Linked DNA regions of Homo sapiens: regions 1, 3, 4, 5, 6 and 7 are each linked to region 2. Evidence: promoter capture Hi-C in 16 types of primary human blood cells and fetal thymus (Javierre and others, 2016). All regions are on one chromosome and are shown on one strand. The core of a region is centred on a gene start or on the middle of the fragment in contact, and the rest is flanking DNA. Distances in the headings are between cores, read along the strand shown.

Region 1 (3,289 bases), core at 435-2,934, 220 kb before region 2:
GAACCCAAGAGGCGGAGCTTGCAGTGAGCCGAGATCGCGCCACTGCACTCTGGGAGATAGAGCGAGACTCCATCTCAAAAAAACAAAAAAGATTGTACGTTCCTGAATTGATATCAGCATTTGGCATTATGTGTCTGTGTGAAAAGACATTTGAAATATATAAAGATGTAAAATCTCATCACATTAATAGATGAACATTTACAATTTATTTTGATAATAGGGAACACTAACAGTGAACGCCAATTAAGCAAAACTATCATTCCCCCAAAAGAAAATTTCATTTTTCTCATTGGTAGAACTATATTATAAAAAGGTTGTCCTCAATTTTTATTATATTTTGAATTTTGTCGATAACAGCTTTATGGCTTCTTTTTCCTCTCTGTTATATAAGTACCCACATAATATCTTGATTCTGATTCTTGGCTACAAAGCCTAAAATATTTACTATCTGATCCTTTACAGGATAAGTTTACCAAGCCCTGGAGTCTAAAGGACTCGAAAGTCTTCGGCTTCCTTAGGACTCTTTTCAAGGCCCTATTTCTTTCTCATTCTTCACTAGATCCTTCCCTCACTTTACTACCCATGATTTCATTATGATCTATAGGAAATCTGCCAAATGTACACCTTCAGCTTAGAACAAATTAATCAACAACCTACTTATTTTTTTCATCCTCGCTGCCTCCATTCTAGTCCAAGCTACCAATATCTCTCACCTGAACCATTGCCACAGCTTCCTCAAGCCTCAGCAGCCAGACTGACCTCTCAGTACGGAAATCTGGTCCCCTCTTCTCCCCATCTCCGCAAAGTCTCTCAGTGGAATTCTCATTTTTCTCTAAAACAAAGTCCCAAATCCTTACAATGGACTACAGGGCCCCACATGGCCTTGCGTCCGCCCACCTCCAGCCTGTCTCACTGCCACTTTCCCTGGCTTCCCTCCACTCTGGCTACCCCAGAGCCATGCTCTCTTCTGCCCCAGGGATTTTACACATTTTCCCTTTGCCGGAAATGCCTCTGATCTTCCCTGTCTTCATCTCTCACCTCCCCTTTTTGCTTGGTTAGCTCTGATAAATGTGCTTCTCAGACAATCATGTCTCCCTAGAACTCTACTCCTTTGGTTTAAATGGACTCTTTTTACAGTTGAAGAACCCTTACTAACACTCTGGAATCTTATGCTTTTAACTGCCATTATTTGTTTTGAAGATATCCAGTTGTATTAATTGTGTTTTTTATTTTCTGTATTTCATGATGTTTTGACATCTTGCTGGCCAGAGAAAGACTGCCCCTTTCAGGTCTTGCTAATTCTTAGAGATAGCAAAGGGCTTGGCTAGGAGCACATTTTTCATATACAAACCAACCAATCCCAAGTCGATAGCCCTGCCATCTCCTTATCGATCTCTCAGACACCAAACCAATATTTCCCCTGCTCTAAATCAGGCAACTGCAGACCACTCCTATAGCCCAGAGCTGGTCAGAATTATTCAAACTAGTCAATCCCAAGCTGCTTTCTCTGCTCTGCCTTGCCTTTCCCAAGGAAACCTCAACAAAGACTCACGTCTAAGCTTCCCCCAGCTCCTGTCTTCCGCCACATGACCAAAACTTGACGATTCCCTTGTGGACCTGTGTGGTATGTGGTGACCCCTCTCTGGGCCTGTGAGTACAGTAAACTTCCATTCAAGCCTGGTTGTCATTTCCTTCTGTGGTCACACCCACTTTGCCACGCCATATTCAAATTTTCATTTTTAAAACATCAACCCTGAATAACCCCCACATGATTTGGGTTCCTTTTGGTTGCACGTAATGGAAGCTTTACTTAAAGTAGGTTAAACAAGAAAACTTATTGCACACAATAGGAAGTTTAGCAGTAAGGAAATTCAACTACCTTATGACCAAGTTTTTTTCCATCTTTCTGGATGGAAAGCCTCCCTCATTGTTGGCTTATCCTTAGGCTGACAGCAAGATGAAGGCAGCAGTTCCTGGGATCATAACCTAGTGTTACTTTTTTCTGTGTAGCTCTTTCATAGAAGCAGAAACTTTCCCTAGAATCCCCTTAACAGGACTCCTATCATATTTTGTTGGCCCCTTGGGTCATCTGCCCATTCCTGACCAGTCATTGGCATTTAGGATGGGATTTATCCGAACTACCTTTGGAATTGGGAGGGTGGCATTCACTTGGGGCACGTTGATGCAGGAAAGAGGGATGAAGAAAATGACATTCTTTTGGGAGGGAGAAGGGGGAAATGGATGCTGGGAAGGAAATTAACTTGTCCGCTACAACCCTCAGCAAGAACTTACTCTCTGCCTGATCAGATAATCATTGCTGGAGAAAGTCATAAAATTGTCCCAATTTTCTTCTCTATTGTTTCTTCTGATTCTTTTTACACTGAAATTGATTTCTTTCATTTTATGTTCTTCCAGAAAATGTTTAAACATGTAATGTGCACCAGAACAACCTGGAAGGCTTGCTAAAATGCAGATTCTAGTGCCCTGCACCCAGAAGTTCTGATTTAGTAAGTAGTCTCAGACCATTTTAAAAGAAGTGCTGACAAAAAAGATACCACATTCCAGCTCTTATGAATGTTCCTGAAACAGTGAGAGGGTAACCAGACTGGAGACCCCATCATATGAGGTAGGTTATTTTGCTTGTAAGTAGGATGATGCAACTATTGAAATTTTCTTTCACAGGAACCTGAAAATATTGCACCATAACTTTCTCTCCAGCAGCGTTCTAAGAATATTTCCTAGTTTTACCCTTTCATCGCACATAAAGCAGTGAAAAACTGTTGCAATTTTATCAATATGTTTTTGTAGGTCTGGGTTCTAGAGTCACTGAGTTCAAAACTTCTCCAAGACAGAGAAGACAGATTGCCTAAATGATGAATCTGGTGTTAGCTGCTTTCAGTTCAGCCCAGTTTTCTGACATGGACAGAATCGATGAAAAGCAGCTTCTTCATTGAACCAGTGAGACAAGTAGAACACTTTTCCCTCTGAATGATAATTTAAAACATATTTTAATGTGTATTTTACACTTTGCATTAGTATGGTATAAAATGAAAAATTCATATGAATTTTAATATTTAAAAAGGAGACTTCAAAGAAATTTTGTGATTTCCTTGGCCACTTTGGCCACACCCCATATTCTCCAGAGTATGTGTTTGCTGTCCTCTGCTATTAGGGGTAATTCAGTGGAAAATATTGAAAAGCTGATTGAATTGGTTTTCTTTTTTTAAGGAGTGCTTAGGAAGGTATCAACCATTTAAAATTTCTCCAAACCATACCTAAGGAGAGAAAT
Region 2 (3,165 bases), core at 108-2,607:
AGAGGCAGCAGAGGACTCAGGCTGGGACTCCTGAGTGCGAGTAAGGAGTACCTAAAGCCGGCGAAGACCTCCTGAAGGCAACCTGGAGATTGGGGTTAGGATAGAGGAAGAAAGGAGCTCAGGGAAAGCCTCATCCCCAGCCAAACATCAGGGTTCCTGGATGGGTTGTCTAGAGGAGAGAACCCAGGGAGTGACCTCATCCCTACTCCATCTCCTATTAAATGAAAAAACCTAGGCCCTGCCATAACTGGAAAGCTCAGTATCACCTGCTGCATTTCACAGAGTCTGTCCAGGTGCTGGCCTTTAATAGTGCATGAAGAGCTGGGCTCTGGATGGTTGAAGCTGTAAAGCTGGATATACGGAAGTAGCCACAGCGGTCCTTCCCTGATCCCAAGATGTCATTCCCCTCCCCCGCCACCACCATGTCTTCAGGATCCTGGGCCTCAACGCTAATGTACCACTCAGCCCCTAAGGGCATGAAATGGGCTTTCAGACCAGGCTGTGTGGGGATGACCTGAAGAGGAAGGTGGACATGCTTAATAACCACTCCTTGTGGGTGGGTTGCCCTTAATGATTTACACAACGATGGGGCAGTAACTTCTCAACAACCTTGACAGGAAGGTTGCCCAGGACAGGGCAGTGAAGCCCCAGGCAGAGCCAGCGGCAGAACCAGAGAGAGAACACAGGCCTGCCTGTTCTTGCCCCACATGGCTGCTTTTCCAGCCTGAAGCCCTAGAGTGGTGACCCTGGTGGCCCTGAGGTGGGAGGAAGATGGGTCAAGGCCATCTTGGTCCTAAGGGAGGGCTGAGGGGGAAAGCTTGGATCCTAAAGCCCAAAGCTCCCTCCCTGGTATGTTGTGCTGGTGCCAGGAGAAGAACCCGCAGGCCCAGGCAAACTAGGCCACCCAACATTCCCAGGTCCCAAAGAACCCAGTCTCTCAAAACCTTGATTGGGCAGAGGACAGGCCCTAACAGGACCGGTTTTAGCCTTAGGATAAGATCGGAGGCGCAGGGGGCTAGCATTCCCCTTTCTTCCATAACGTGGAGGAGCTGCGGCTCCCCCGCCACCCTGCCCTTGGAGCTCCCTCCCCCGGAGCGCCCAGGCCCGCGGGCCGGGAAAAGCCCTCCCAAATCTGACCTGCGGCCACGGCGTCACCAGAGCCCGGGACTGCAACTTGTCTCCGGCCTGGCTGCCAGCTGGGCCCGCGGAGCCCTCTCTCGTCCGGTGCCTCTGCAGCTCTGCGCCGGGACGGGCGGGGCTGGGGGTGAGGAGGGGAAGGCACGGCCCGGCTCGGCTCAGCCACGGGGCGGGGCGCAGTGGGGCGGGATGGAGTCTGGCGCCTGGGGAGGCGCGGAGGTGCTTCCAGCGGACGGCAGCGCGCGAGGTGAGACGGCGAGGGCTCCCGGGGCGCAGGTAGAGATGTTCCGTCGGTGCCGAAGGCCCGGCTAGTGCGGTTGTGTGGACGGCGAAAAAAGCAAGTCCGCCTTCACAAGTCCCATGGGGCTGGGGAGAGGGTGGGAGGCGGAGAGGGTATGGGGAGGGGAGACTCTCCTCAGATCCTCTCGACACCGTCGGGTCTGGGCTCCAAGTCCAAGGCCATCGATCACCTGCCACCCACAGACCAGGCCAGGCGTCAAAGCAAGTCACCCATCCGACCTAAACCCCTCTAAGACCCCGGAGTCACGTCTCCCTCCGGGGATCCTCGTGAGGTCTTGGGGGTCCCACCGCCCTGCGAGCCGCGCCCGCGCCCCGCCAGACCCGGAACTGCGTCGCTAGGTTTGCGCTGGAGCTGCTGGGATTGCTGGGCATGGGTGGGGGGGCGCAGAGGAGGAGGGGGGATTGGAGGGACCTCTGCGGAGCTGGCAGACCCCGGTACTACTGTCCTGGCGCACCCAGCCCTTCTCTGTACCAGGCCGGGAGAGGGAGGCGGCGCCGCAGAGCCTCGGGTGCAGTCTGAGAAGTTTGGGAGTGACTTGAAGAGTGACTGGAAGCACCCCAGACCCGGTTTGTCCGGTCACAGCCGGGTCCTTACGTGAGTTAGGAGAGGAGTGGGGGTCGGACGGGAGCCCCACTGAGAGTAAGGGCGCGCGTTTGTTCACAGAACGTCGGGACCTGGTTCCCTCTTTAATCACACCCCCGGGGGCGCTTCGTGTGAGGTTCCACGGGGGAAGGCGAGAGGCGCAGGCTGCCACACACGCACTGTTTGGAAGAGGGGAAGGTAGGGAATAGTGGTCCGGGTGTGGGTGGTGGGGGATGCGGCTGCTTAGATCTGTGCGGTCCAGGTGATTTTGGAGGGGGTCTTGAAGTGCTTGCTCCCGCCCTGGCACCTAGGGCTGCACTTCCTGCTTTCATCCAGACCAAGTTCGGATCAAGTGGGAGTTCTTCAAAGAGAGAGTTTGGTAAGAAACTGGGGAGGCAAGGAAAACCTCTTAAGGCCATAAATGCCACAAGGTTTATAGACATCGAATCGCCATCCCAGTTTAACTCGAGTCTGGATACTTTGGCTTGCATGATTCTGCACCCTTGAATTCCTTATCCACATCAGCCCTTACTGGGGAATCCTGCCTCCAATCCACTTTTCAGATCTTGTTCAATTTCTCCACTTAACTCCTATTTTTGTGCAACAACACACATATACATTCATACACAGATACACACGTACACACAGACCCCTTCCTTGAAGAGGAAAGTCTAGCACAGGAGTTCCTGACAGGGTCCCCTTAGCTAGCCACAGCTGTAAACGTTTAATGGGGTCTACCCCAATCAGAGAAAAAAGCATCACATTGCAGTAGCTGTGCATTACCAATCAGAGGTCTTGGCAACTCCAGCCATGTCACCCACTCCCCACTTGTGGAGAATTAGTGGCCCTTACTCTATAGTTTCCAGCAGATGGGGGAGGTGGGCAAGGGGGAAGACTTCAGGAAAAAAGTCCTGTCAGGCTACAAGAGAGGCCACAAGACGTTAGCACATAACTTTGAATGAAGAAGGCTGGAGGTTGTTCTAGGCTGAATTTTCTTAAAGATTGTAACTTTATGTTTTACCCACCTCTCATACACACATAGGAACTCCACTTCAACCTGTGGTAGGTAAGGATTGGGTAATTGTGTCTATAATAAGATTGAGCATAAGGAAAGTCTTCAGTACATAAGGGAGCCTGGAAAGGGA
Region 3 (3,220 bases), core at 124-2,623, 180 kb before region 2:
CTCTTTTTTTTTTTTTTTTTTTTTTGTATTTTTAGTAGAGACGGGGTTTCACCGTGTTAGCTAGGATGGTCTCAATCTCCTGACCTTGTGATCCACCTGCCTCGGCCTCCCAAAGGGCTGGGATTACAGGCGTGAGCCACTGCGCCTGGCCTATTTCTAATAACTTTTAAGTTGATGCCCTTAGGCTTCCCAGGTATATATGATAATGTCATTTGCAAATAATGACAATTTTACCACGTCCTTTTCAATGTTTAAACCTCATATTTTGGTTTTTTAACTGACTATACTATCAAACAATTATAATTTTTATGAAAAAAGCTTGGACTAAGACAAAATCTTTTGAACTGGGGAAAATAGTATATAGGAAAACTATTTTACACATTTTATTATTTAGATTGAGGCTTAAATGTGGTATGATATTTCCAAACTACACCTCCAAAAGCTAAGAACCAAAACTTTCACTTAAAAAGCTTTCCAGAATTGTAGTTTGTTTAAATATTCCATATCTGCATTGCTTTGAAAGAACTTGAAACAAAGTCTGAATTCCAGGTGCAGCCTGACTTTTTTCTTATCATTTCAGATAAAAGTTCAAAGGGAACTTTTCAGAGGGCTTCAGACATATCATTATCCCAAAGAGTTTATTAAATAAAGAGCTTTGGATCAGGAAAACAAGAACCCCAAGTTATATAAGGGTGAGTCTTCTGCGAATCTAGAGGACAGGCCACCAGCACAAAAACAACATTACCCCAGCTTTCAGAGGAATGCTGCAGCCTTCGCCAGGCATTGGCTCCTGTCCTTTAACAACAGTTTGTTAACACTTTCTTGAGCAGTGGGAGTGGCAGGTTTTTCACAAGGGAGACTGGGGTAGCAATCTGGAGGGAAGGGGAAGCTAGAGGACTTGTCTCAAGGCTACTTCTGCGTAGTAAATAATGTGTGTTCTAAATATGCTTTTTTTTTTTTTTTTTGAAACAGGGTCTCACTCTGTTGCCCAGGCTGGAGTGCAGTGGTGCATTCTTAGTTCACTGCAGCTTCCTCCTCCCAGGTTCAAGCAATTTTTCTGCCTCAGCTTCCAGAGTAGCTGGGCCCACAGATGCATGCCACCACACCCGTGGGGCTTTTTGTTTGTTCGTTTGTTGTATTTTTCGTAGAGACAGGGTTTTGCCATGTTGGCCAGGCTGGTCTCAAACTCCTGGCCTCAAGTCATCCGCCCACCTCTGCCTCTCAAAGTGCTGAGATTACAGGCGTGAGCCACTGCGCCCGACCAAAAATATGCTTCTGTCTATAATTACAAACTTTTGTTTATGTATTAATTATGATTCTGGAGGGGGGTTGCGGAGTTTATGAAAATTGGTGGCCGGCGGGGGGGAGATAAGGCTCTCCCAGGCCATTCCTTCCCCTTGCCAGTGCTGTAAAGAACTGTTCTAAATTGATGGAGAGAAGATTTCGAGTGCTATCACAATACACACATGCAAACACACACACACACAAAGGTAACATGAGGAGATGGATATGTTAATTTGCTTGACTGTAGTAATCGTTTCACTGTGTTTATGTATATACTACTTAAAATATACACTTTTTATTACAAAAAAAAGAGACAAAAATAAGTCGTATGGAAATATAAAGTTTAAAAAGATACAATTCTTGCCCTCAAAATAGCATATAGTCGAAACAAAAGGGTAGGGCACAAAGAGAGGGCAAAGCATGAATCAAAGAAAAAGACTGAGGTAACTGCTGATTATGGGCACAGTACATAACCAACTGTTCCACCTTGAGGTTACAAATGAAAACATCAATGTTGAGGGCTAAGTTGGTTTTAAATTCTGACTTAACACGGTGTTGATGGTGGCAAAAGACCTCCATGGAAGGGGGTGTAGGAAGAAGGAAGGAGAAGTGTCTTTTTCCTAGCACCCCCGGAAATGAGGTCCTAAGCCCTGTTGAGTCCAGAGAGGCACCTCGTCCCATCACACAGCTAATTATGTAGCAGCTCTTCGGGAAGAGGGGTTTCAAATCCTCCAGAGAGTTCAACACAGGTCTGGAGACTGAAAACAACCCAGGTGGAGCAGCTTCATTCAGCACTTACTGTGTAAATATGTTATTAAGCACTATATTGGGGATAAAATAGGACAAATATGTTCTCTATCTTCAGAGATATTGTTTGCAATGGAAGAAGTTTTCCTCTCTGCCACCTCACAATCACACTCAGGATCTTACCTGTGCATAATCATTCAGAAGGATCCACCAAAACAACTGGGCTTGCATTTTCCAGAAGCTTCTTGTCCTCGAGACTGTGTGCTCCTTATGAATAGAGTGCAAACAAATGCGACAAAAAATGTAGAAGATGCTCAGCCCATTATTATTATTATTATTTTTTCTAAAGATAGGGCATCACTGCAGCCCAGGCTGGAGTGTAGTGGTGCAAACATGGCTCACTGCAGCCTCGACCTCTAGGGCTCAAGCAATCCTCCCACCTCCCAGCCTCCTGAGTAGCTGAGACCACAGGTGTGTGCCACCATGCCTGGCTAATTTTATAATTTTCTGTAGAGATGGGGTCTCCCTGTGATGCTCAGGCTGGTCTCAAACTCCTGGCCTCAAGCAATCCCTCCACCTTGGCCTCCCAAAGTGGTAAGATTACAGGCATGAGCCTGGACAGTTCTCTTTAACTCTCAAATGCCCACATCAGAAAAGACAGTACAAATGTAAGCTGATTTTCCTATTTCTCTTTAGGGGCACTGTGTTAACAACAGTTTCTAACTTAATGAATGCCAATTGTGAGCCAATTTAAACCAAATAAACCAGGCCAAGTCATTCTATTACACAGTAGATCAGAGCAAAACCCATTCTAGCCTGGACCAGTGGCATCCAAACAATAACCTAAATGCCTGGGGAGAAAGGCCAATTTAATTAACATTCCACCCTGAACTCTTTTTTTTTTTTTTTTTGAGACGGAGTCTCACTGTATCAGCCAGGATGGAGTGCAGTGGTGTAACCTCAGCTTACTGCAACCTCTGCCTCCTGGGTTCAAGCAATTCTCCTACCTCAGCCTCCTGAGTAGCTGGGGCTACAGGTGAGTGCCACCATGCCTGGCTACTTTTTTGTATATTTAGTAGAGACAGGGTTTCACCATGTTGGCCAGGCTGGGTCTTGAACTCCTGACCTCAGGTGATCCGCCCGCCTCGGCCTCCCAAAGTGCTGGGATTACAGGTGTGAGCCATAGCGT
Region 4 (3,287 bases), core at 270-2,769, 200 kb before region 2:
TTTTGGTTTACAGTAGGTTGCCAGGCACATCCATTTAAACTGCTCTGGTACGGAAGTGATTTCTCGGCCAGGCATGGTGGCTCACGCCTGTAATCCCTGCACTTTGGGAGGCCAAGGCAGGCGGATCACAAGGTCAGGAGTTCAAGATCAGCCTGGCCAACATGGCCATCTCTGCTAAAAATACAAAACTTAGCCGGGCGTGGTGGTGCATGCCTGTAATCAGCTACTTGGGAGGCTGAGGCAGGAGAATTGCTTGAACCCAGGAGGCGGAGGTTGCAGTGAGCCGAGATTGCACCACTGCACCCCAGCCTGGGCAACAGAGTGAGACTCCATCTCAAAAAAAAAAAAAAAAAAAAAAGAAGTGAAGAAATGATTTCTTTTTTTGTTGCTATCCCTACTTTTATACCTAAATTTTGGCCAACTAATGTATACTGAAAATATAAATAGAGCATACAGGTTCCAATGATGAGTTACTTTGTTGATAAAGAAGCTTGTGGGTGAAGTGTTAGCAAAACCTTTTCTCTCCTACATGAAAATTTGACTTTTGGTTAACTTTCTACATCTTTTCCACTGGCAACCTAATAAGGACTGTGATACTGTGATATAGTAAGAAATACATATTGGGTCTTCAGGCCCCCAGTTTCTGGTACAGAGATTCTAAAATTCTGGTAACTTCCCGAGTGATAGGAGTGACAGGAGCGTCTTTTGTTAAAATCGCTGGTTTTTATCCCTGGTTCCAGGCGCAGAGCTTCTAAAAACTCTTTGAATTTTCTGAGCAATCGAGGTGACAGGAGCATCTTTTGTTATTTTCAACAAGCTCTTTTCGAGTGTACATGAATTATGTTAATTAGATGACTGGTGGCTGGAAGCCCATAGATAGCTTCAGGATGGGCACTGGTTGCCAGAGGAACCAAACATGTGATTATAGAGGATTGGAACTTTCAGCCCTACTCACCCCGAGGGAGGGAGAGAAAAGCTGGATTGAGTAAATCACCAATGGCCCATGATTTAAGCAATCACGCCTATGTAATAGAACCTCCATAAAAACCCTAAACAAAGGGCTTCAGAGAGCTTCTGAGTTGGAAAACACATCGAGCGGCTGATGAAGCCATCCCCACAGGGTTGACAAGGATTTCATGCTGAGTTCTGGGCAGAAATTTCGTTATAATTAAGCCTTAATCAGGCTGCACTTTGGCTCATTTCCTTGTTGCTGAAAGTCAATAGCACTAGATACTGCCCATTTGCACCCCCATTATTCCTATAGACAGGATCACCGCCGTTAGAATCATATGGCTTTTGTTTGAAGGTTGCCTAAGATGTTTTCAGATCCCAAACTCCAGTGAAACAGCTGAAACCAACCAGTTTGAAGACCCCCACAGAGAAATGGAATCAGCATGAGAATACAGCTTCTTCATCTTTCTGTCCCATGACTTTACCCTGCACTCTTCAACCAATCAATGATCTTCACACTTCAGCCCACTCCAAAACCCTTAAAATCTCTAGCCCCAGGCCGGGCACGGTGGCTCACGCCTGTAAACTTTGGGAGGTCCAGGTGAGTGGATCACCTGAAGTTAGGAGTTCAAGACCAGCCTGGCCAACATGGTGAAACCCCTGTCTCTACTAAAAATACAAAAATTAGCTGGGCATGGTGGCAGGAGTCTGTAATCCCAGCTACTCTGGAGGCTGAGGCGGGAGAATTGCTTGAACCTGGGAGGCAGAGGTGGCAATGAGCCGAGATGGCACCATTGCACTCCAGCCTGGGCGACACAAGCAAAACTCCATCGCAAAAAAAAAAAAAAAGCCCACAAAATCTCTAGCCCCAGATTGCTTGGGAGATGGAGTTGAGGTTTCCTCCCATCTCCTAGTTCGGAGACCCTACAATTAAACCTCTTTCTCTGCTGCACCCTGGTGTCTCTGCCTACTGACTTGCTGTGCACATGGGACAATGGATCTGCTACAGTTACACCGAGAGGGTGGGGTGCCCAGGGAGGGCACTGGAGCTCTGCACATCTCCCGTTTCACACCTTGTCCTCTGCCTGTTCATCTGTAGCCTTTATAATATCATTTATAAATAAACTGCTAAATGTCAGTATAATGATTTCCTGAGTTTTACAAGCCATTCTAGCAAATTATTGAACCTGAGGAGAGGGTTGTGGAAACCCCTAGTTTATAGCCATTAAGACAGAAGTATGGGAGGCTCAGCTTGTGATTGGCATCTGAAGTCTTGTGGGCAGTCTTGTGGGACTGGGCCCTTTCAACTGTGCCATCTGATACTAACACCAGGTAACTAGTGTCAGAATTGAATTCAATTGAATTATTGGATACCCAGTTGGTTTCTGGAGAGAAGGAGAATTTGAGGTTGGCATGGGAAAAAAAAAACACCACATATTTGGTGTCAGACATGTTCTATGGGTAAAAAATAGATCATAGTAATACAGTTCCCCCTTGAACAAGCTGGGGGTTAGAGGTGCTGACCTCCCAACACAGTTGAAAATCTAAGTATAATGTTTTACTTCCCAGGAACTTAACTACTTGATGAGAAGCTTTACCAATAACATAAACCGTTGATTAGCATATTTTATATGTTATATGTATTATATACTATATTTATACAATGAGGAAAGCTAGAAAAAAGAAAAACATTATTAAAATCATAAGGAAGAGAAAATATATCTTTATTAAGCGGAAGTAGATCATTATAAAGGTCTTCACCTCATCATCTTCGTGTTCAGTAGACTGAGGAAGAAGAGGGAGAGAAGGGGTTAGTCTTGCTGTCTCAGGGGTGGCAAAGGCAGAAAAAAGTTCATATATAAGTGGACCCATGCAGTTCAAACCTGTGTTGTTCAAGGGTCAGTTGTAGTAGGAGAAGGAGAAGGAGAAAGGAAACTATGTCACTTTTGTTGCTTGACAACCTACTTATGGTAAAATGACCCTGATTGGTAAACTGTATCTGAACTAGTTAAACTATAAATTTCTGTTAAGAGGTTTTAGTTTGAGATTCCCTGAGTACTGTGTCTCTTGTAACAAATATGTCCCTTGGAAGGACTCTAAAACTGTCTGTGAAGTTCTTATAAGACATAGTTGCTGGCCGGGCATGGTGGCTCACCCCTGTAATCCCAGCACTTTGGGAGGCTGAGATGGGAGCATCGCTTGAGGCCAGGTGTTTGAGACCAGCCTGGGCAGCATGGTGAAGCCCCATCTCTACATAAAATACAAAAATTAGCTGGGTGTGGTGGCGTATGCCTGTAGTCCCAGCTACTCGGGAGGCTGGGGTGGGAGGATCACTT
Region 5 (3,155 bases), core at 69-2,568, 160 kb after region 2:
AGTGAGATGCCATCTTGACAAAAAAAAAATTTAATTAGGCTGGGCGAGTTGGCGCACACCTATAATCCCAGCACTTTGGGAGGCCTAGGAGGGTGGATTGCTTGAGGCCAGGAGTTTGAGACCAGCCTGGCCAACATGGCAAAAAAAAGTTTCTATTAAAAACACCAAGAAAAATTGGCTAGACGGGGTGGTACACAGCTGTAGTCACAGCTACTCAGGAGGCTGAGGCACGAAAGTTGCTTGAACCCAGGAGGTGGAGGTTGCAGAGGATATAGTGAGCCAAGATTGTGCCACTGTACTCCAGCCTGGGTGACAGAGCGAGACCCTGTCTAATTAATTTTTTTAATTAGCCAGGCGTGGTGGCCCACATCTGCGGTCCTAGCTACTCAGGAGGCTGAGGTGGGAGGATTGCCTGAACTCCTGGGAGTTCCAGGTTGCAGTGAGCTATGATCATGCTACCTCACTGCAGCTTGGGTGACACAGCAAGATCCTGTCTCTCTCTCTCTCACACACACAAACTAAGTAAATAAATAAGGTGTTTAAGAAAGAAAAAAAACTCCTCTTTATACCATAATTTCCACATCCGATAATTTACATGAAGAAAACTATCAAAAAAGTAGAGCAAGATTTATTTTTAAAAAGATGTTCATGGAAGTGTCATAAAAGTAACAAATTCTAGGCCAGGTGTGGTGGCTCATGCCTGTAATCCTAGCAGCATTCTGGGTGGCTGAGGAGGGAGGATCTCTCACTTCAGCCTGGGAGGTTGAGGCTGCAGTGAACTGAAATCGTGCCACTGCACTCCACCCCTGGGGGTCAGAGTGAGCTTTTGTCTCAAAAAAAAAAAAAAAAAAAAAAAAAAAGGTTAAACAAAATGAAATGCCATATGCTGCCAGTACACATCATAATATCAAATAAGATTTTTCGGCCAGGCACGGGTGGTTTATGCCTGCAATCCCAGAACTTTGGGAGGCTGAAGCAGGTGGATCACTTGAGGCCAGGAATTTGAGACCAGCCTGGGCAACATGGCCAAACCCCGTCTCTACTAAAAATACAAACAATTAGCTGGTGTGGTGGGGTGGCATGTGCCTGTAGTCCCAGCTGCTCGGGAGGCCAAGGCACAAGAATTGCTTGAACCCAGGAGGCAGAGGTTGCAGTGAGCCGAGATCACGCCACTGCACTCCAGCCTGGGCAACAGACTAAGATTCTGTCTCAATTAAAAACAAAAAATGAAGGTTATCACTGGGAGAGGATTTGGGAGAAATTAGGATTTTATACTAATTCTGTACTGCCTGATTTTTCATACATCAAGTTTGTATGATGTAAAAAAAATCAACGTCCCTAGTACTATGCTAACAAATGCTTCAGCAGGTAAATTGAGGGTATATTTTATCTGTGTTCACACTGCACCCTCTGGTGTTTCCACAGAGAAAAGGCTCTAAGTAGACACCTACCTAGGGTTTATTCATATCCTTTGTCCATTTCTGTTGTTTTTGGATTGGACATATTTTTCCCAGATTTCTAATACCTCTTTGTATATTAAGGAAATTAGCCCTTATGGGAGAAAAACTTGAAAAAATTATATAAATTACATCATTACTTTTTATTTTGAAGAAAGATAACTACTATTTGATCATTTATATTACAGCAGCTAAATACCAGACTGTAGGGTACCCCAGTCCCATCCTCCCCTCCCCTGATTCCACTCCTGGCTTGCTTTCTGTGTCCTGACCAAAAATCACAGAGGGCTTTGACTGCTCTGTGAGACAGCCCAGTGCAGGGTTTTCCCATCAGGCTTGAACTCAAACCAGGACCTTAAACATTTCCAGGCACTGATAAAGGTATCTAGGTTGCTGCTCAAAACACTGAAAGAAACTGGCCTCAGCCCTGAGCCAGATTCCTTAAACCCTCATATAAACTCCATACCCAGACCCCCTCACTGTGGATATACCTAGGTAGAACACCCCTTATATCTTGTCCATTGCAAGGATTGGTGCGATACTCTGCAAGTTCCCTCAATAAATGCTTTAGACTGATTACTCTAGCTAGTGGTTCTTTCTTTAGAATCCCAACTGGCCCCAGCTTGGGACTGTTTGGGGCACTCCGTTGTGGGGATTCCCCTGCCTCCACTTTTAGATTGACTCCGGCCACAGGTTTGGAGGGATAAAACAGACTTCTGAAGAACCAATGTTCCCTATGAATATTTGAAAACCAACTGAATTGGAAAATATGAAGCTAGGACTAGATCATGTATAAGCCTGCAATGAGAAGGCCTCTTATAAACTGTTCCTAATACAATGGCAAGGCCATGTTTGTTTGTCTTTTTAAATTAATTTCTTGTTTTTCTTTGAGACAGAGTATTGTTCTGTCACCCAGGCTAGAGTGCAGTGGCGTGATCACGGCTCACTGCGGTCTCAACCTCCTGGGCTCAAGCGATCCTCCCACCTCAGCCTCCAAATAGCTGGGACTATAGGTATGTGCCACTATGCCCAGCTAGTATTTTAAATTTTTTATAGAGGTGGGGTATCCCTATGCTGCCCAGACTGGTCTCAAATTCCTAGGCTCAAGCAGTCATCCGGCTTCAGCCTCCCTAAGTGCTGAGATTACAAGCATGCGGCACAATGCCCAAATTTAATTTCTTAAACCAACGTAATATATTAAAGCAATTTGGAAAGAAGATGGGAAATCACTCACCACTTTTCATCCTAATAAAATTACTGCTAATATGTAGTGTATTTCCTTCCAAGTAAAAAATATATTTTAAGATTCTTTTGTAGTTCATAAGTGTGATGATGGGGTTTTCACACACAGATACGTATAATTTTTAAATAATTTATTAACTGCTATCATAACATACATAAAATCCTTGTCTCCTTTCTGCAGAGACAGTATAGTGTGCTATACTATGAGATAGTATAGTATTCTACATAGTAAATACCTGGTATAGTATTTAATGACTACCATTTAAATAATGGGCTCTGACTCAGTGCAAATCCTGCTTCTCCCGTACTTAATAAAGTTTGTATGACTTTGGGGAAATTGCTTATCTTTCTAATCATAGATCTCTTTTTTTTGTATAATGGGAATGATTATAATGCTATCTATCTCATAGGAAAACTGAAAATTAAATGAGATAAGCACACAATCAGTGCTCACAG
Region 6 (3,366 bases), core at 325-2,824, 190 kb after region 2:
TTTTATTTCCTTTTTTTTTTTAAATTGAGGCAGAGTCTCACTCTGACACCCAGGCTGGAGTGCAGTGGTGCGATCTCGGCTCACTGCAACCTCCACTTCCCAAGTTCAAGGGACTCTCCCACCTCTGCCTCCTGAGTAGCTGAGATTACAGGTGCCTGCCACCATGCCCAGCTAATTTTTTTTTTTTTGTATTATTAGTAGAGACAGGGTTTCCTCATGTTGGCCAGGCTGGTCTCGAACTCCTGACCTCAAGTGATCCACCCGCCTTGGCCTCCCAAACTTCTGGGATTACAGGCATGAGCCACTATGCTGACCTTATTTCTTTATTGAAAAATAAATAGATAACAATAAAAATTTTAAGTTGTAAAATGATATTAAATGAAAAGCATCTTGTCTTCCCTTCCTATCCCACTATCTATCACATATCTCTTAATTTTCATAATTTCCATTATTTTCATAAATAAGGGCTGTTTCTTTTATGAATTACTGAAAGCAATTCAAACTGGCTTGTAAAAAAGTGAAGATGAATGACCCCTGAAAAATGAACATTTTCAGATTTGTCTGGATTGGGTTTCAATTTTTTTTCTTTTCTCTTTTCTTTTTTTTTTTTTTTTTTTTTGAGACAAGGTCTTGCTCTGTCACCCAGGCTGGAGTACAGTGACACAATCTTGGCTCACTGCAGCCTCAATCTCCTGGGCTCAAGCAATCCCCCCACCTTAGCCTCCCAAATAGCTGGAACTACAGGCATGCACCACGCCTGGCTAATTTTCATTATTTTTGTAGAGATGAGATTTTCCATGTTGCCCAGGCTCGTCTCAAACTGAGCTCAAGCGATCCACCCACCTCAGCCTCCCAAAGTGCTGGGGTTACAGGCGTAAGCCAATGTGCCCAGCACTTTACTGTCTTTTACCATTTATCTCTTATATGGGATGAAGCACAGTGATTTACCAGGCCTGAGTTATGTGACTAATTTTATGGTGTGGATTGGGATGGATAATGTGTTTTCTGAAAAAAAAAAAAAAGAAAAGAAAAGAAAGAAAGAAAGAAAAAAAGAGAAAGAAAGAAGGAAAGAAAGAAAAAATGCAAGATACTGTTAACAGAAAAGGAAACAGGTGATAGGTAAGTCAATATTACAGATATTCACATTTAATGTCAATTTAAAATATAATGCATGTATTGCTTTTTTTTCTTTTTTTTTTAACTGGCGCCTGGCTCATTTTTGTGTTTTTAGTAGAGATGGGGTTTCACCATATTGCCCAGGCTGGTCTCAAACTCCTGGCCCCAAGTGGTCCGCCCATCTTGGCTTCCCAAAGTGCTGGGATTACAGGCATGAGCCACTGTGCCCAGCCTATACTTGTTTTTTTATTGTGGTAAAATGTTTGTAACATAAAACTTACCATTTAACCACTTTTAAGTGTACAGTTCAGTGCCACTAAAGTGCATTCACAATGCTGTACAACCATCACCATTATCCATTTCCAGAACTTTTCCATCATCCCAGACAAACTCTGTACCCATTAAACAGTGACTCCCCAGCCTCTAGTAACCATTATTCTGCTTTTTGTCTCTGTGAATTTGCTTATTCTAGGTACCTCGTGAAAGCGGTATCATACGGTTTTGTCTTTCTGTGTCTGCCTTATTCCACTTAGCATAATGTTTTCAAGGTTCATCCATGTTGTCGGCTGTATCAGAATTTTATTCCTCTTAAGGCAGAATCATGTCCCGTTGTGTGTATTGTACAGATGCTCTCAATTTATGATGGAGTTACATCTCAATAAACCCACCGTAGATGGAAAATATCGTGTTGCAAATGCATTTAATACACCCAACCTACTGAACATCGTAGCTTAGCCTAACCTACCTTAAACATGCTCAGAACACTTAGATCAGCCTACAGCTGGGCAAAATCATCCAACACAAACCTTCTTTTATAATCAAGTGTTGAATATTTCCCGTAACTTATAGAATACTGAAAGTAGAAATCAGTATGGTTGTACGGGTACTTGAAGTACAGTTCCTATTGAATGGTTATCACTTTTGCACCATTGTGAAGTCAAAAAATATTAAGTCAAACCATCGTAAGCTGGGGACTATCTGTGTTTGTTTTTGAATAGATAGTACATGCACAGAGTACAACATTCAAAGATGCAAAGGACCTAGAGTGAAGAGTAAATCTCTCTCTTATCCCTTCCTCCTCCCAGCCCCAGCTCCCCTCCCAAGAGACAACCAGTGTGACTGCATTCCTGTGTATCTTTTCTGAGAGTGTCTGCACACTCAGCATCTAGGTTTAAATAGTATTTAAAAATATATTTTCACACAAGTATTAGTACACCAGGCATATTGTTCCTGCATCTTGCTGGTATCTTCTTTCTTCACCTCCCCCTTCTTTTTTTTTTTTTTTTTTTTTTTTTTGTGACAGAGGCTTAGCTCAGTGTGCTAATCCAGGGGTTTTTTGAGACGGTTTAGGGGAAGGGAAAAGGTTGATATAATAATGCAGGGTTGCTCCTCGGGGTATCGATCTAGAAACAATTTTACAGAACTTCAGTTGTAAACTCAATAACATTACTTGTATAATGGTGATGGCCATGTTGTTGTTTTAATCAGTTGCCTCGTTTTAAAGTAAATTTTTATGGAAAACACATTCAACTATCATTAAAAAAATGAAGTTAAGCTGTTGGGACCATTTCTTTAAGATTTAACAAAAGTTCAGCCTTTTAGGTAGTTGAAGGGAAGTACACCCCGTATTCAGCACATGTTGAGTTTTCTACACCAGGAATTTTCAATGTGTATATTGATGAAAACAAGCTCAATTCAAACTGGACAGTTTTAAGATAATGTTAAAATCAGCACTTTTAGAGACAACGAAGGCCAAGAATCAGTACAGTAGTATTCCAAAATGATTTTCTCTAGAAATTTGAAAGTGGATCGAATAGAATGTTTTCAACCGCCTACCAGTACAATCTTTTGTGGAAGATAGTTTGAAATCACTTTCTACTTTGTTAGTAAAGTTCTCTCTCTTTCCAGAGCTGCAAGTTTTAAAGTGTTACTTATACAGACCAACAAAGAATAGTGCTGAATTAAGTGGCATTTAGTATCTAGAAGCCATTTTGATCCAAGAAGCTACTTAAGTGTCAAAGTCAGCATGAAGCACATGTAGCTTTTCTGTAAACAAGGGTGTGATACGAAAACTGCTTTTTTAAGAAGAGTAAAAGCACATTCCATGTACGTAAGTGAATTTTAAAAATAAATTGAGGCAAACAGTTAAGAAGTTTTATTTTTAGAGCAACAAGTTAACTGTAAATATTTTAATGTTAGTTTGATCATCTATGATCTGAGATCATGCCGAAGTGAGAAAAATGTCCCCAA
Region 7 (3,390 bases), core at 783-3,282, 250 kb after region 2:
GCATGCTCTTGGCCACCTGGAAGGTATGGAAATATCCCCACCCCGAACTGAGAGGAGACTCCCATGGAGGATGGGCTGATTTCAAAATGGGCTAATTGGCTTTGGGTTGCTTTGCAATGACATGCATGGTAGAAGTATTGCACTATCTTCTCCCATAGTATTTCCCTCTTTTGGGGGGATCCAGGATGCAGTATACAAATGGCACCCTTAATTTTGGGGATATGTTTTTGCCTTCTAGCTATGCCTTCTTATTGGGCCCTAGAAATGCCATGCTTTCCTGGTGCTGTTCCTCCAAGGGTGTCACCTTGAAGCCAGTAATCCAATTAAGAAACTAGCAAATGAAAAATCTTACAAGTACCAGATCTTCTGTCTGTCTGTCTATGTATATGTGTTGTATGCATGATGTTTGTATAAAAGAGCTCTAATTGGCTTAGAAAAATAAGCACTTAAATCAAGTATTTTGTCAGAAAAATAGAAACTTTTTAATGCCTGTTTGTTCACATAATTTCAGTGATCTTTTGGAAATAAAAACAGTTTTAAAGATCACTGGTAAATAAAAAATGTCTTCACAATTTAGATGTTTGGTCTAAATAAGGTCAGATGTTAGGTTTGCTAAATGCTTTAAAGTCATAAACTGTTTCTTTGACTTTCGAAAATTGTTAGACTTACCTACTTTGGAGCCATTAGAAATTCTAGCTAAGGTCTGGGGACATGTGGAATTAGCCATGCCCCCTAGCTATGCTGGAGGCAGACCTTATCTGCATTTCTGTCTGATGTCCTAGGCTCCACACTTAGTACATAATTAAAACCACTTATTTATCAGGGTTTTCATCAAAAACAAAAGTTGCTAAGTGTTAACGTTGTAACGTGTAATTGAGACTGCTGGAGAAATTGTTTTACATGCAAGATGTGTAAGGAAAGTAGAATGTGCTTTAGCTAAAGGATTAAATAAGGTAAGGGAATATGGCTTTTGTCAAAGGGAATGTAATTTTGTCTAGTTCAGAGGGCTTTAAAGATCGTCTTAACCTAAAAGAGTAACAGGACAAAACTGAAGGTTTAAGCAAGTTGAAAAGTGTTTGTGAAGGGTTGGTCTTAAGTTTTGAAGGGGATTATTTAATTTTTTTCTGTATGTTGAACATAAAAGCACACTAATGCCGGGCCAGAATCTGGGCCCCTGTGTCTAAACAAAAGGGTTTTCTTAGAAAATTAATCTGCTGTTTAATGGAAAATTGTAAAGTGTTCTAAAAAAGTTTATAAAAACCTTACCTTATGGTCAAACTAATTAAAACTGGATAATTTATAACATTTTATTTAAAAACTAGCTTTAGCATTAAAGAGGCATTAATGCAAACATGAAATTTGGTTTTCTCTTTTGAAAAAGATTTTTGTGTTATTGATATATGTTCCAAAATTATGTGAAACTCCTGTAATTCTGATATGACTTTGTATATGTTATCATTAATAATTATAATTGCTATGTTAAATTATTGTGTTCCCCAGAAGTAACAAATTTCCTTGTCAATTGTGTCTTTAACTGTGGCTGGCCTAAAACTTTTTGTCATCCACAGACAATTATTGTCTTTTGATCCTCTTTAAATGGTTTTATAATCAGCTATAACACTCTGACAGGTGCTCTTAAATGCAGGTTTCTGAAAACTTTGGAGATTGTGACATTAGAATAGAGGAAAAACTTTCAGGACTCTCATTGAGAGCTGAAATGTTCATGAATACTAAGCAGAATGGAAGTTAACTGCATGGGCTGAACTAATAGAAGACTGAGGCAACTTTTTTTGACTTTTTGTTTAAAACATTGCTGATCATTTTTTGTTTTTCAGAGCCAAGAAAACCTTTCTTTTGAGCTATTTACAGCTTTTAATATTGAGTAAAGTACACATCTGTAAACAAAATTTGGAGCATATTTGATTCTCTCTTCCTGATTTTGCCAGGATTTGGTAACTATTTGTGAGTATTCTTATGGCAATATAGTTACTTCCATAAGTGCAATAAGAATGTTTTCATTTGCAACAGGACAAAATTGAAGAAACTGGTTATTTTACCAAGGCTTTGACTGGAATCGTATGCTTGCCTTTAAGGAATAAAAGCCTCTTGAGGCCAGGCATGGTGGCTCATGCCTGCAATCCCAGCACTTTAGGAGACCGGGGCAGGCAGATAGCTTGAGCTCAGGAGCTCAAGACCAACCTGGGCAACTTGGTGAAACCCCGTCTCTACTTAAAATACAAAAATTATCTGGGTGTGGTGGCACATGCCTGTAGTTCCAGCGACTTGGGAGGCTGAGGTGGGAGGATTGCTTGAGCCTGGGGGATGGAGTTGCAGTGAGCAGAGATTGCATCACTGCACTCCAGTCTGGGTGACAGAGCAAGATCCTGTCTCAAAAACAAAACAAAACAGAGAAAACAAAGCCCCTTGGGAAAACTGGCCTCATGCCTTGTCTACACAGTCCCTGTACAGGGTTCCTGATCTGTGGTGAGTAAAGAATGTCACTTTCTAACAGGCCCAGGAGCCCCAAGTTATCTTGGGACCTCAAGAGGAGAGGAATTGACCCAACTCATGGTTATTTGAGGGTACAAACCCATGGGCTTGGCCTGGCTTTAAAAAAGTCTTGTTTGAGATTCCTTATGGAACAGAGTTCCATCAAAGCCAATTTAAAAAGCCTATGTGAACAATAATTATTGTTGCTGCACTTATGCAAGTAATCAGGCAGAGCATAATAAGACTAAAACTTATTTTGCAAGTAAAGTTGACCTACTGTGATTTATTTTTAATTAAAAAATGGGGACTGGAGACAGAAAAATTATGCTCCAAAAATAAAAAACAATCATTGTTAGTTGTTCTTGAGTTTTTTCTGCAGTTTGGACTAAATCCTAAATTATTCATGGACTACAAGTCTCCAAATTAATGTTTTCAAATCTTTACTTTTAAAAGTTGGAATTGCATGCCTTATGCTAGAACTCATTATTTACTTTGTAGTGTGCTGTTCCCTTAAATGCAATACTAAAATTATAGATGACAATACTAACACATTTTTCAGCCATCCTGCGTGAGTATGTTCAGACAGTAGCAAAATGATTCCAGTCCTCTCACCTTGGGGTCAACACCTACCCCGACTATGCCCCTGGTCAGCAGGAAGAAGTTAGAGTGGTCTTTGCCCTTTCTCCATCTTCATTAGCCAACACCTTAAGATTAAGGTGTTATAAAACCCAAAGGAAGGGATTGAAAACGCCATTGCAAAAACATAACTGAGACAGTAAAAGAGATCCAACCTAACCAAGTCCGTCTTGCTTCTAACCTCCAAGCTGTCCTTGTTCATTCCTGGGCAAAGTCTGAAATAACTTTGTGGGGAACTTAGTTTTTTTGTTTTCTGTTTTTTTG

Evidence for each region. Contacts are between HindIII fragments. The CHiCAGO score rates a contact against its expected background, and 5 or more counts as called.
Region 1: a fragment that was not itself captured here is called in contact with the fragment with the promoter of DUOXA1 in region 2 in 4 of 17 cell types (naive B cells, total B cells, M1 macrophages and 1 more); the score reaches 6.5 in naive B cells.
Region 3: a contact is called between a fragment that was not itself captured here and the fragment with the promoter of DUOXA1 in region 2, in 1 of 17 cell types (M2 macrophages). The highest score is 5.5, in M2 macrophages.
Region 4: a contact is called between a fragment that was not itself captured here and the fragment with the promoter of DUOXA1 in region 2, in 2 of 17 cell types (naive B cells and activated CD4 T cells). The highest score is 5.6, in naive B cells.
Region 5: a fragment that was not itself captured here is called in contact with the fragment with the promoter of DUOXA1 in region 2 in 1 of 17 cell types (naive B cells); the score reaches 5.3 in naive B cells.
Region 6: a contact is called between a fragment that was not itself captured here and the fragment with the promoter of DUOXA1 in region 2, in 1 of 17 cell types (neutrophils). The highest score is 5.0, in neutrophils.
Region 7: a fragment that was not itself captured here is called in contact with the fragment with the promoter of DUOXA1 in region 2 in 1 of 17 cell types (neutrophils); the score reaches 5.1 in neutrophils.

The regions. Positions count from the first base shown.
Region 1 is chr15:45,350,804-45,354,092 of GRCh38, reverse strand. No RefSeq gene overlaps it. Among named protein-coding and RNA genes, the nearest start is that of GATM, 26 kb to the left of the region's middle. The HindIII fragment of the contact is 245 bases long and covers 1,562-1,806 here.
Region 2 is chr15:45,128,071-45,131,235 of GRCh38, reverse strand. It overlaps DUOXA1 (dual oxidase maturation factor 1), which reads left to right and starts at 1,357. Exons shown (of 9, transcript NM_001276266.2): 1 at 1,357-1,384; 2 at 1,621-1,776; 3 at 2,102-2,218. It overlaps DUOX1 (dual oxidase 1), which reads right to left and starts at 1,242. Exons shown (of 34, transcript NM_175940.3): 1 at 1,138-1,242. The HindIII fragment of the contact is 6,225 bases long and covers 820-3,165 here.
Region 3 is chr15:45,308,279-45,311,498 of GRCh38, reverse strand. No RefSeq gene overlaps it. Among named protein-coding and RNA genes, the nearest start is that of SLC28A2-AS1, 31 kb to the right of the region's middle. The HindIII fragment of the contact is 1,802 bases long and covers 473-2,274 here.
Region 4 is chr15:45,324,617-45,327,903 of GRCh38, reverse strand. No RefSeq gene overlaps it. Among named protein-coding and RNA genes, the nearest start is that of SLC28A2-AS1, 47 kb to the right of the region's middle. RefSeq lists an enhancer at 712-1,642. The HindIII fragment of the contact is 2,053 bases long and covers 493-2,545 here.
Region 5 is chr15:44,966,290-44,969,444 of GRCh38, reverse strand. All of the region lies in intron 5 of TERB2 (telomere repeat binding bouquet formation protein 2), which reads right to left. Among named protein-coding and RNA genes, the nearest start is that of TERB2, 11 kb to the right of the region's middle. The HindIII fragment of the contact is 5,681 bases long and covers 1-3,155 here.
Region 6 is chr15:44,941,944-44,945,309 of GRCh38, reverse strand. No RefSeq gene overlaps it. Among named protein-coding and RNA genes, the nearest start is that of TERB2, 13 kb to the left of the region's middle. The HindIII fragment of the contact is 6,507 bases long and covers 1-3,366 here.
Region 7 is chr15:44,876,642-44,880,031 of GRCh38, reverse strand. It overlaps the pseudogene SORD2P. Among named protein-coding and RNA genes, the nearest start is that of TERB2, 78 kb to the left of the region's middle. The HindIII fragment of the contact is 7,075 bases long and covers 1-3,390 here.